Regions from separate parts of the Homo sapiens genome. Here regions 2, 3 and 4 are each linked to region 1. The links are contacts of gene promoters, found by promoter capture Hi-C in blood cells and fetal thymus (Javierre and others, 2016). All regions are on one chromosome and are shown on one strand. Each heading gives the region's core, a stretch centred on a gene start or on the middle of the fragment in contact. The rest is flanking DNA. Distances are from core to core; before and after follow the strand shown.

Region 1 (2,531 bases), core at 22-2,521:
CTGCAAACATTTGAGGAACCACACGGGGATACTCCCTGCCTTGGGCAGAAATTCCTCTGTGTCAGGGGCCTTCCCTCTCAAATTGGGAGTGGGGTGGGGAAGAGAGTGGGCAGCGGGGGAAAAGCATAACAACAGCACCAATTGTGTCTGCCAGGGTACCTGACACTCCTGCCCAGCTCACATATCAGGAAAACCAGACTTCAGTAGCTCTGAATATTTAATGGCATTAGGTAAAATCAAAAGAACAGATTATCTCCTCCCTATCACAAACACAGAATAATTCCTTTTTGTATTCTGACACTTCATCCGAACTATATACACCAAGAAAGTAAAAGAGGTTTTGATTCCTAAAATAAAACAATCAGAATATAATGGGGAGCAGGTACACCTTCAGTTATGTTCAGGGCTTGTTGCTTGTTCTGATCCTTATATTCAATTTTGTCTTCACTTCCAAAAAGGCTGAAAATTCACAGCTATGTTATCATCCAATCTAAAAACTACACTTGCACGGTCCCGTACTAACCTTCAGTAAGATAAGAGTGTTCCTTTGTCTAGCCGCCTAGCACTCTGTAACTTCCACATCTAAAATATCATGATGCTACTCAACATTAAGGAAAAGGTCAAGCAATGGGCTGCTCTTTTTACTACACCTGCGGCTGCAGAAGCCCGCACAAATGAATGAAGACAGCCACCTTCATTCATCTCTGCTCTTTAAAAAATGCGAGCGCAGTGACCTGTCAAAGCCACCACGCTGGAGTTCCTAGGTCAGGGCGTTTACCGCAGGACTTTTCTCCATAGCCTCTGAAATTAGCAGGCAGAAATCGCGGGGACCCCTGACAAACGGATTGTATAACAACAACCTAAATAAATAATCAGGTGTGCGCCGGACTAAGTAGGGGTTCCTCTCTGCGGAAAAGCAGCTCTTCCCAATGGGGAAGAAACTTCTCGCCCAGGAAATTCGAGCCCAGAACCGAGGTTTCCAGGGAGGATTACCTCTTCAACAAGGACCCTTTTACAGGAAATGTCCTTGATGCCAGGAACTCCACTGGGGAAGCCGCTGGAAAGGCACCTGGACACCCACACACATGGAGGGGATGCGGGGGCGCGCCGCAGGGACCGGGCCCGAAGGTGGCCAGACTCGCCTACCTTGTGGGGCGCCCAGCCGACGCGGGGTCCCGGTGCTGCTCCTCCCCTGGGCGATCGGACCTTGGGGCCAGGGTCGGCTGCCAGGGCCCTGCGAGTGCAGCCGCCACCGCCCGCAGGCTTGGCTCCGCCCCGCGGGGCGCGCCCAGGGCAGAGTCCGGCGCCGGTGAGGCCCCGGGGAGGAGTCGCGGCAGGACGCGTACGCCCAGCGCTGGAGAGCCAGGCTCTGCCCCTCACGCCCCTCGCTAGGGTGCTGTACAGGCGGGTGGGGGGAGGGGATCGGCCGCTGCTTTTCAAGAAGGTTCTATTTGCACCCTAAGTTTATAAACTTTTGTTTTTGTTTTTTAAATAATTTTTGATTTTATTGTTTTTAGTATAAATTTATGGAGTACAAGTGCAATTTTGTTGTTTTTTTAAAAAACTTTCTTTTGGAACTTAAAAAAAGTTGCAAAGATAGTAGAGAGAGTCGTCTATATACCCCTCAGTCGGTGTCTCCTAATGCCTACAGCTTCCATAACTGTGGCACATTTGTCAAAACTAAGAAATTCACATTGGGCCAGGTGCGGTGGCTCACGCCTTGGTAATCTCAGCATTTTGAGAGGCCAAGGCAGGCGGGAGGATCGCTTGAGCTCAGGAGTTCGAGACCAGCCTGGGCAACATAGCGAGACCTCATTTCTACTAAAAATATTTTTTAAAAGACATTAACATTGATCTGCCACTATTAACACTACTCCAGACTTGATGTAGCTGTCACTAGCTTTTTGGCTAACGCCTTTCCCTTTCAGGATCCCAGCCAGGATACCACACTGCATTTAGCATCCTGTGCCCTTTGTCTCCTCTAATCCATGACAGTTTCTCTGTCTTTTCTTGACTTTGACAGCTGTAAAGAATTCTAGTAAAGTATTGTGATGAAGTATTCTGGTAAGGTATAGTTTTGTGGGGGTACCTCGACACCCACTCATGTGGGTATTGTCTACTGTTTTTTTCTCATGATGAGACTGGGGGGAGGAAAGACTCAGAGATGAAGTGCCTTCCCCACTGCATCCTCTCAGGGACGATGGCACGATGGCCAGGTGACTTATCACTGGTGACTTGACCTTGATCCCATAGTTAAGGTTGTGTCTGCCAGGTTTCTCTACTGCAAAGCTGTTTTTCTCTTTCCATACACTCTACTCTGAATGGCATGAATGGCATGACTCAATTCAGCTGACACTCAAGATGAGGGCAAGATTAAACTCCATCCCAGAGCAGGGAGTATCTATATGTTATTATTTAGAATGATTCTGTAAGGAAGATTTGTTCCATCTCTCTTGTTTATTCAATCATTTATGTCAGTATTTGTTATGTCAGTATGGACCCATGTATATTTATTTTATACTTTGGGCTAG
Region 2 (2,531 bases), core at 12-2,511, 580 kb before region 1:
ATATGTAGAATGTAATCTATCTTTCTTTCCCCTCTCATTCTAAACATCATTGAGATATAAGCCTGTTCAATAAAGTCATAATTTTAAGCGAAGACTTGATTTTTAATGGACATATGTGTAGAAGTATACTTTAGGACAGTTGAAAAATGGCTGTTAGTTGTAGTGTTTTTACAGTAAATGGAAAATAAAAATATTTAATACTCTTGAAAATTAGAATTGTTTGGAAATGTAGAAAATATTTTTTAATGTTTTAATCACATTTTCAATACCATTTAATTTTGTAGTTATATAATTTTAATATTTTGTTATATTTGGTGTTTTTAATAATAGGTTTCAGAAGATGATTTCTCTAAATTACAGTTGAAGGAAAGTATGATTCCTATTACTAGGTCACTTCAGAAGTAAGTATTCTTTACTAATATGGATACAAATCCATCTTAGCCATTTCTTTGACATATGTAAAGTTACAGGGTAGAAGTAAGTAGTTTTAAGAGTAGCACTACTAGGCATATTTAAGCTTCTTGGAGCACACTGTTTACACTAAAAAACATTGTTTTCTTTTAAACTTGTGCTTTTTCCTATTCAAAGTGTTCTAAGGACCTAATGAGATAGCCTTAGACCTCTAAAATATAATGGATATGACTCATTTTTGAGTAGTAATAGCAACAATTTATGATAGTATTTTTGTGAGTATCCTATAACAGTAACTTGTATGAAATGTGTTTTCATATATTCTCTCTAGAATAAATTTAATAATAAATGGATCGTGATTTGGAACATCATTACAGAAATCTAAAGTAGATATAATGACCTGGATATAAAGATAGGTCTAATTTTCTTAGTTACAGTGTCTTAAATAATAAAATGGAGAAAAATACAAGTTGTTTCTATAGTCATGATATTGACAGAAGAGAAGGGTATTTATTTTGGAGTTTGTTGTGTGACTATGAAGTGTCCTCAGAAGATGGAATACTGAACTTAGGAAATACTGAGATTAAAAGTTTCTACTCTAGTCACACCATTTCACTTGGCTACCTTTTGTACTTTGAGAATTTGCTTAGGCTTCTGTGATCTAAGGAACTGGTGGAAAATAAAACACTAGACATGTAAACTTACGAATCTAATTGTCACAAATGTGTATATAGTTTTCATAGTTAAAATGTATCATGTATGATTACTTTTTTCTCTCTACTTAATTTATTATCTTTAGGGTATAAATAATGCACCTTTGTTTGTAGCTTGCCATAGTACTGGGGTATAATGTTTCATACCTAATAGAATTCAGTGAATAATGATAGTAATAGCTAACATTGAATGTTTACCAAATTTCAGTATTCTAAGTGCTATTGAATATAATTCATGTGATCTTCACAACCTTATGAAGTAAGTACTATTATTATTTTCATAATACAGATCGGAGAATAGGCATGGAGTAGTAAAGTAACTTGCCATAGCTAGTAAAAGAAGCGGGATTCAGATCAGGTAGTGTGATTTGAAAGTCTGTATTTTTAACACTACTCTCACTAATGATAGTGATGAATTATTCATTGAGACTAAGAACAGGGCCTCAGTTGATCATCTAGTATGAAGACTTCATTCTGCTTTAAAATTTGAGGTGAATGACCATAAGTTTTCCATTGCTCTTTAAAGCATTATACTGCACTTGTCACAGACCTATATGTGTTTTCTGAGTTAATGTACATATCCTAGATGTTTTTCCTGGTGAAAACTAACAGTGGATTGTAAGTCATTTAATCACCACAAAAATCGATACTGATCTATAAGTGCTTTTACCATTTGCTAGAATTTTTTTAATAGTAACTTTTTTTCTACTATAAGCAATCAATAGTCTTACCTGTATATGGAGTTTCATTTTTAGAGAGAGTAAGTTTTATGTTTTGTTAGATGGCCTTTAGTTATTAATTCTGTTGTATTAACTGGAGCAGTCTTAATTTGTCTTTACATTTCTAAAGTATTATCAGTAAGACGTTTGTACTGTAATGAAGTAAGCTTAGACTTACAAAAGTTATTTTCAGTCTGTAGATTAACTGTTTTAAGGACAATTTAAATTTAATTACATCTCAGAATTCCTTTTTCCAGGCGGCAAAATATTCTGGTTAGGTATATGGTCATCTTTTCATACTTCAAATATTTCAAATGTATTTCAAAATTTACAAAATATTTCCAAAATATTTCAAAAGTTACTGATTATACTTTGTAGGCTTTATTGGCCTTTCCTAAGGTAAAATCCTATTATGGCTCTTTACATTCCTCAAATAACAGTTTTTGTTTTTAATAATTTGGATGGCTATCCAGTTTTAAGATATATTTCATTAGCCATAGGGAACTGTAAGCTAGTAGTCTGGCCTTGTCTAGTCCCTTAAATACTCAGTTTTCTTATATTCTTCAATTAGAAATATGTGTTCTCTAGGAAGACTCATTGGAGCTGGGATTACAGGTGCATGCCACCATGCCCGGCTAATTTTTGTATTTTTAGTAGAGATGGGGTTTCGCCATGTTGGCCAGGCTTG
Region 3 (2,531 bases), core at 14-2,513, 540 kb before region 1:
TGATGGCCAGTGATGGTGAGCATTTTTTCATGTGTTTTTTGGCTGCATAAAAGTCTTCTTTTGAGAAGTGTCTGTTCCTATCCTTTGCCCACTTTTTGATGGTGTTGTTTGTTTTTTTCTTGTATATTTGTTTGAGTTCATTGTAGATTCTGGATATTAGCCCTTTGTCAGATGAGTAGGTTGCAAACATTTTCTCCCATTCTGTAGGTTGCCTGTTCATTCTGATGGTAGTTTCTTTTGCTGTGCAGAAGCTCTTTAGTTTAATTAGATCCCATTTGTCAATTTTGGCTTTTGTTGCCATTGCTTTTGGTGTTCTAGGACATGAAGTCCTTGCCCATGCCTATGTCCTGAATGGTAATGCCTAGGTTTTCTCCCAGGGTTTTTATGGTTTTAGGTCTAACATTTACGTCTTTAATACATCTTGAATTAATTTTTGTATAAGGTGTAAGGAATTAATACAATAACAAATATTGTTTTGTGAAACTTTTGTTTCAGTAGTGTGTGTGTATTTACGTGTGTGTGTGTTTGTGCATGTATATCTGTACATGTACTGGATCACAGGGGGAAATGTATTTCTTGATGTGAATGTAGTTAAAAAAAAAAAAGTTTGAGAAACACTGATCAAGGAAGTGTTTAATCACTTAATCCAGTGATTAAGGAAGAAATACTAATGTCTAGCAAAGAATTACTCTTAGATATATAAAGTTATATGCTATCATTTTCTTTTAAAAATGTAAATGTGACCTTACAGTTGTGTGTAAATGTAAGCTTTCCTTTGAGAATGCTGGATCATGAGTATTACATTTTAATGATCTGGTTTGGTGTTGTGCACTTGTATAGTCCCAGCTACTTGGGAGGCTGAGGCAGGAGGATCTCTTGAGGCAGGAGTTAGAGGCCAGCCTAGGCAACACAGCAACACTCGATTTCTAAAACAAAAAAGAGAATTTAATGATCCTGAAATGATATGCAGTGATAGTACTTTGATTTAGTGGAATAACAGAGGAATCAGGAGAAATTCTTTCTACACCTATAATTACAGATAATAGTGTGGCTTTCCACAAGTCATTGCTCCACCCTGGGCTTCAATTTCCTCATCAGGAAGATGAGACATAGAAGCTAAGCTGGAATCTTTAGTATTCTTTACAATGCAGCATTTCGGTGTTTATATCTTGAGGCTAGTTCCCCTTAAGACCCTTAACACAGAGCTCAGGAAAAACTCTTTAAGCCAGCTATCATCTTAAGAAATGTAGTACCCCCTGCTCTGATCATGTCCTGATTTAACGTGAAATAATTAAAAGATACATTTTAAGTATACTTTAAAAAATAGCTCTTTTCATCATGTTTGTCAGTGAATTTTAGTTGAAGTTAGTTTAAAGAAAAATTTAAGAACCGAGAAAGGAGGCAATATTTCTAATGTGTCTTAAGTAGAGAATAATGGCTTTCTAATTTTCCCTAGGCAAAGAACAGGCTGTGGTCACGGGTGAACATTTTCCTGGTGTGTCTCTTGGCCTGCATCATTACCACAGCAGTAGGAGTGCTCATGCTCTCCTTGGTCTATATTAGCAACTCATGCAGACATTCATTTCAAACCTGAAGCCTGGCCTCTGCAAACAATGACTCCCATAGTATCAAAAGCTATTGATCCAGAATTTCAGTTTCTTAATCACTTACCTAAATCTAAAGTATGAATTACACACATTAGGAAAAATAATTATTCTTAATGGCAACTTTAAAACCACCTTCTCATTGTATGTTTACTAAGCTTTATTCTCTATTGGAAGGGATGAACTGTGAGCCAGGATGAAGGAAGGTGAGAGATAGAGAAGAGGGGAGAGTTGCGTTGTTGACCTCAGACAGAAATGTTCTTCAGTAGACAGTTCCATGTCTGACTAGAGTAGAGAATTGCACGTGGACAAATGGAAATTCCTCTATTCTCTTGCCACCCTAGGTGTCTCTTTAAATGTCTAACAGGGTCTAGACTGATAGCACTGCGTGTGTTACTATTGCCATTCCTGGACTCGTACAGACCTATTCCTCCTCTTCCTTTCTGGGATTCCAAAACTCACCTCACCACCATTGCCTTTTCCCTTTTGCCTCCTTCTTACTCTATAGGCCCCATGCTCTTAGGAGGTGGCCTCCATGCTTATGGTGGCTTGTTTATGGTTTTCCGGGTGTTTGACTTCCTTGATGGTACAATCCAGTGGGCCCGGTACAGGAACAATGTCAAAGACTATCTCAGCAATGAAGAAGAGGCCTTTGGCACCAGCTTGAACAGTCAGAGATCACAAATGACTCTGGGGACACTTAGGATAAAAAGCAATGGCCTCCAGGCCCTTCACTGGCACTTCAACGCCAGTGAACATGACTGTCTTGCTCAGGTATAACTAGTTTGCCCACACTCTCCTCTTAAGAATCTATGTTTTTTGTCCTGAGAGTAGTATTTTAGTTGTTACAAAATCTGCTTAACTAAGAGATAGACAAACATTCAGGCTTTGGCTATATATTCAACTAGATTAGTTAGCAGTGCCTAT
Region 4 (2,531 bases), core at 16-2,515, 520 kb before region 1:
CTTTCTGGGAAAGTCACTCTAGACATGATGGCTCATTCAGAGAGGCCCCTTCCGTGCTCCTCTTCGTGGAGTATGAGAACTATTCTGACTTACAACATAAAATGTTGAAAAACCTGTATATACAGGCACTAAAAATTCCCCAAACCCAACATATAAAGGACATAGGGAATCAGAAACTTCTTTCTAAAGGACTTAAGAGTAGAAGATGTGTAGAAAATTTGACTTTAGGTATTTTGGGACAGACACTGATTAAGGGCAACTTGATCTGCATGATGAATTTCAAGTAGGACTGGGGCTTCATCAGTCATGTATCCACAATAGTCATATAGGAAATTCGTATGGACTTGAATTACTAGCTGAAACTCTTCCCCAAAGTGTCTTTGTTTAAAGGAGAGAAAAACCACTGTTCACTAAGTGTCCCAGCCAGATTACTCTGTCACTTGCTACAGCATCTCAGTGTCTGGAATTCCACATGGCTTCTTACTGTATTTTAGAGACTTCCTGCTTGTAGTAAACCACTTCCTTTGCGAGTACGTCTGCTACTGTACTTGTCTGCTACTGTACTCGCAGCGTTCCAGACCCTCACTGTCACTTTGTTACCCTACAACTATATTCAATTTAACAAAAAGGGACCCTCAGAGCTGGGAAGGGACCATCTGGACCAGCTAGTCCAGGAAGCTCAGGGTGTGTTCCTAACAGTGTCCAAAGCAGACTCCATAGAGTTGGGCTTGGAGAAGGGGTGAGTCAAACTGGGGTGCTCAATGCCTCTACCAGCTTTCACCCTGCTCTGCTCCAAACAAAACAGAAAAGGGCTTGAAACTCAATGACCTAGTCCAATCCCTTCCTTTTTCAGATGAGAAAACTGGGGCCTGAAAAGCTGCTTTTCTAGATACAAAGCACATGAGAGTGATAACGATGTAACTGCTCTAGAAATTGATATTACCTGGTTAACTGAACCTCTAGTCTCACTGTGGAAGAGAGAGGTAAAAGGTAACACAACTTTGTAAAGCTTTGGTTTCATTTAGAGACTTTAACCTACCTAGAATGTGCTTGCCACCTCTTTTGATTCTCTTCATTATCGGAACACAGCTTTGGAGAGTTGTGCATGCTGTTGCAGGATTTTTTTTTTTTTTTTAAGAGACAGTTTTGCTTTGTCACTCAGGATGAAGTGCTGTGATGCCATCACAGCTCATTGCATCCTCCAACTTCTGAGCTGAAGCCATCCTCCAGCTTCACAGCCTCAGCCTCCCATGCAGCTGGCTCTACAGGCATGCACCACCATGTTTAGCTAATTACAATTTTTTTTTTTTTAAGAGGTGGGTTCTCTCTATGTTGCCCAAACTGGTCTCAAACTTTTGGCCTCAAACAATCATATTGCTTCAGCCTCCCAAAATGTTGGGATTACAGATTTGAGCCACTGTACTTGGCCAGGAAAGAATTTAATGGCAACTTTCATCTAGTGCTTCTCATGGCAGTGTTAGGCTGAACACTGGATACTATGGTGAAGACTGTTAGTTACTTTAAGCTTAACTTTAGTGCACAGCTCTCCTTTTACATGCCGTAAAGAAAACCATGATGAAATGATATACATGCCTAATCGACACCACACAGTTCCTGGATGACTTGTGATGATGCTGGAGGTCTTTGCTTTCACTCCTCCACCTGGCTAAGCCCATCTCTCCCTTAGACCCTCTGTCTAAAACTCTAGACTCTTGTCGGCATTCCCCACTTGACATTTCCACTTGCTTGTCTGATAAACATCTCCAACTCAACAGGAACGAAAGTCAATTTCTAATCTTTTGTTCTAAGACTGTTCTCCCTGAGCATTTTTCATTTTGGTTCCTGGCAATTCTATCCTTCCAAATATCCTATCTATTCTATACTCAGGTAAAAATCCTTGGAGTCATTTTTGCCTTTTCTCTTTCTCTCACATTTTCTCTCTACTCTGAGCTAATCCTGAATTTGACCAGTTCTTGCTACTGCCACTGTCACCACCTTGGGCAGAGTTATATCATTTATCTCCTGACTTGCTTCAGAGGCTTCCTAAGTTGCCTTTCTACTTCTGCCTTTGCATCCCACTTTCAGTCTATTTTTAGAAAAGTAGAGGGATCTTTAAGTTAAGTCAGATCATGTCATCTTCTTGTCAAAACCATCCAGTGGCTCCCCATGTCATCCAGAGAGAAACTAGAATCCTACAGGGTCCTATGTGATCTATCTTCTATTCTCTGCCCCTTTCCATGTCCCATCTGTCCATGGCCCACCACAACTCCCTCTCTGACTTCATCTTTACTACTCTTGTTCCTGGTCACTCACTGCTCTCCAGCCACATAAGCCTCTGGGCTGAGCTTCCAATTCCCTTGGCACACTTGTGTCTTACAGCATTTGCTCTGGTGGTTCCCTCTAGCCAGATTTTGAACCTCCCACACCTTCAGGACTTTGCTTAAATGTCACTTTCTCAATAGTCATCCCAATGAAAATGGATAAATGATTGCCACTCCACACATCATCCCATGCCTCCAGTTTTTGCGTGT

Evidence for each region. Contacts are between HindIII fragments. The CHiCAGO score rates a contact against its expected background, and 5 or more counts as called.
Region 2: a fragment that was not itself captured here is called in contact with the fragment with the promoter of CCDC68 in region 1 in 3 of 17 cell types (M2 macrophages, erythroblasts and total CD4 T cells); the score reaches 7.1 in M2 macrophages.
Region 3: a fragment that was not itself captured here is called in contact with the fragment with the promoter of CCDC68 in region 1 in 1 of 17 cell types (erythroblasts); the score reaches 6.3 in erythroblasts.
Region 4: a fragment that was not itself captured here is called in contact with the fragment with the promoter of CCDC68 in region 1 in 1 of 17 cell types (erythroblasts); the score reaches 5.2 in erythroblasts.

What each region holds. Positions count from the first base shown.
Region 1 is chr18:54,958,190-54,960,720 of GRCh38, forward strand. It overlaps CCDC68 (coiled-coil domain containing 68), which reads right to left and starts at 1,272. Exons shown (of 12, transcript NM_025214.3): 1 at 1,147-1,272. The HindIII fragment of the contact is 7,607 bases long and covers 1-2,531 here.
Region 2 is chr18:54,373,884-54,376,414 of GRCh38, forward strand. C18orf54 (chromosome 18 open reading frame 54) reads left to right here. Exons shown (of 9, transcript NM_001288980.2): 8 at 331-401. Among named protein-coding and RNA genes, the nearest start is that of C18orf54, 17 kb to the left of the region's middle. The HindIII fragment of the contact is 1,493 bases long and covers 516-2,008 here.
Region 3 is chr18:54,413,780-54,416,310 of GRCh38, forward strand. It overlaps the pseudogene CUPIN1P. Among named protein-coding and RNA genes, the nearest start is that of C18orf54, 57 kb to the left of the region's middle. The HindIII fragment of the contact is 994 bases long and covers 767-1,760 here.
Region 4 is chr18:54,436,669-54,439,199 of GRCh38, forward strand. No RefSeq gene overlaps it. Among named protein-coding and RNA genes, the nearest start is that of C18orf54, 80 kb to the left of the region's middle. The HindIII fragment of the contact is 516 bases long and covers 1,008-1,523 here.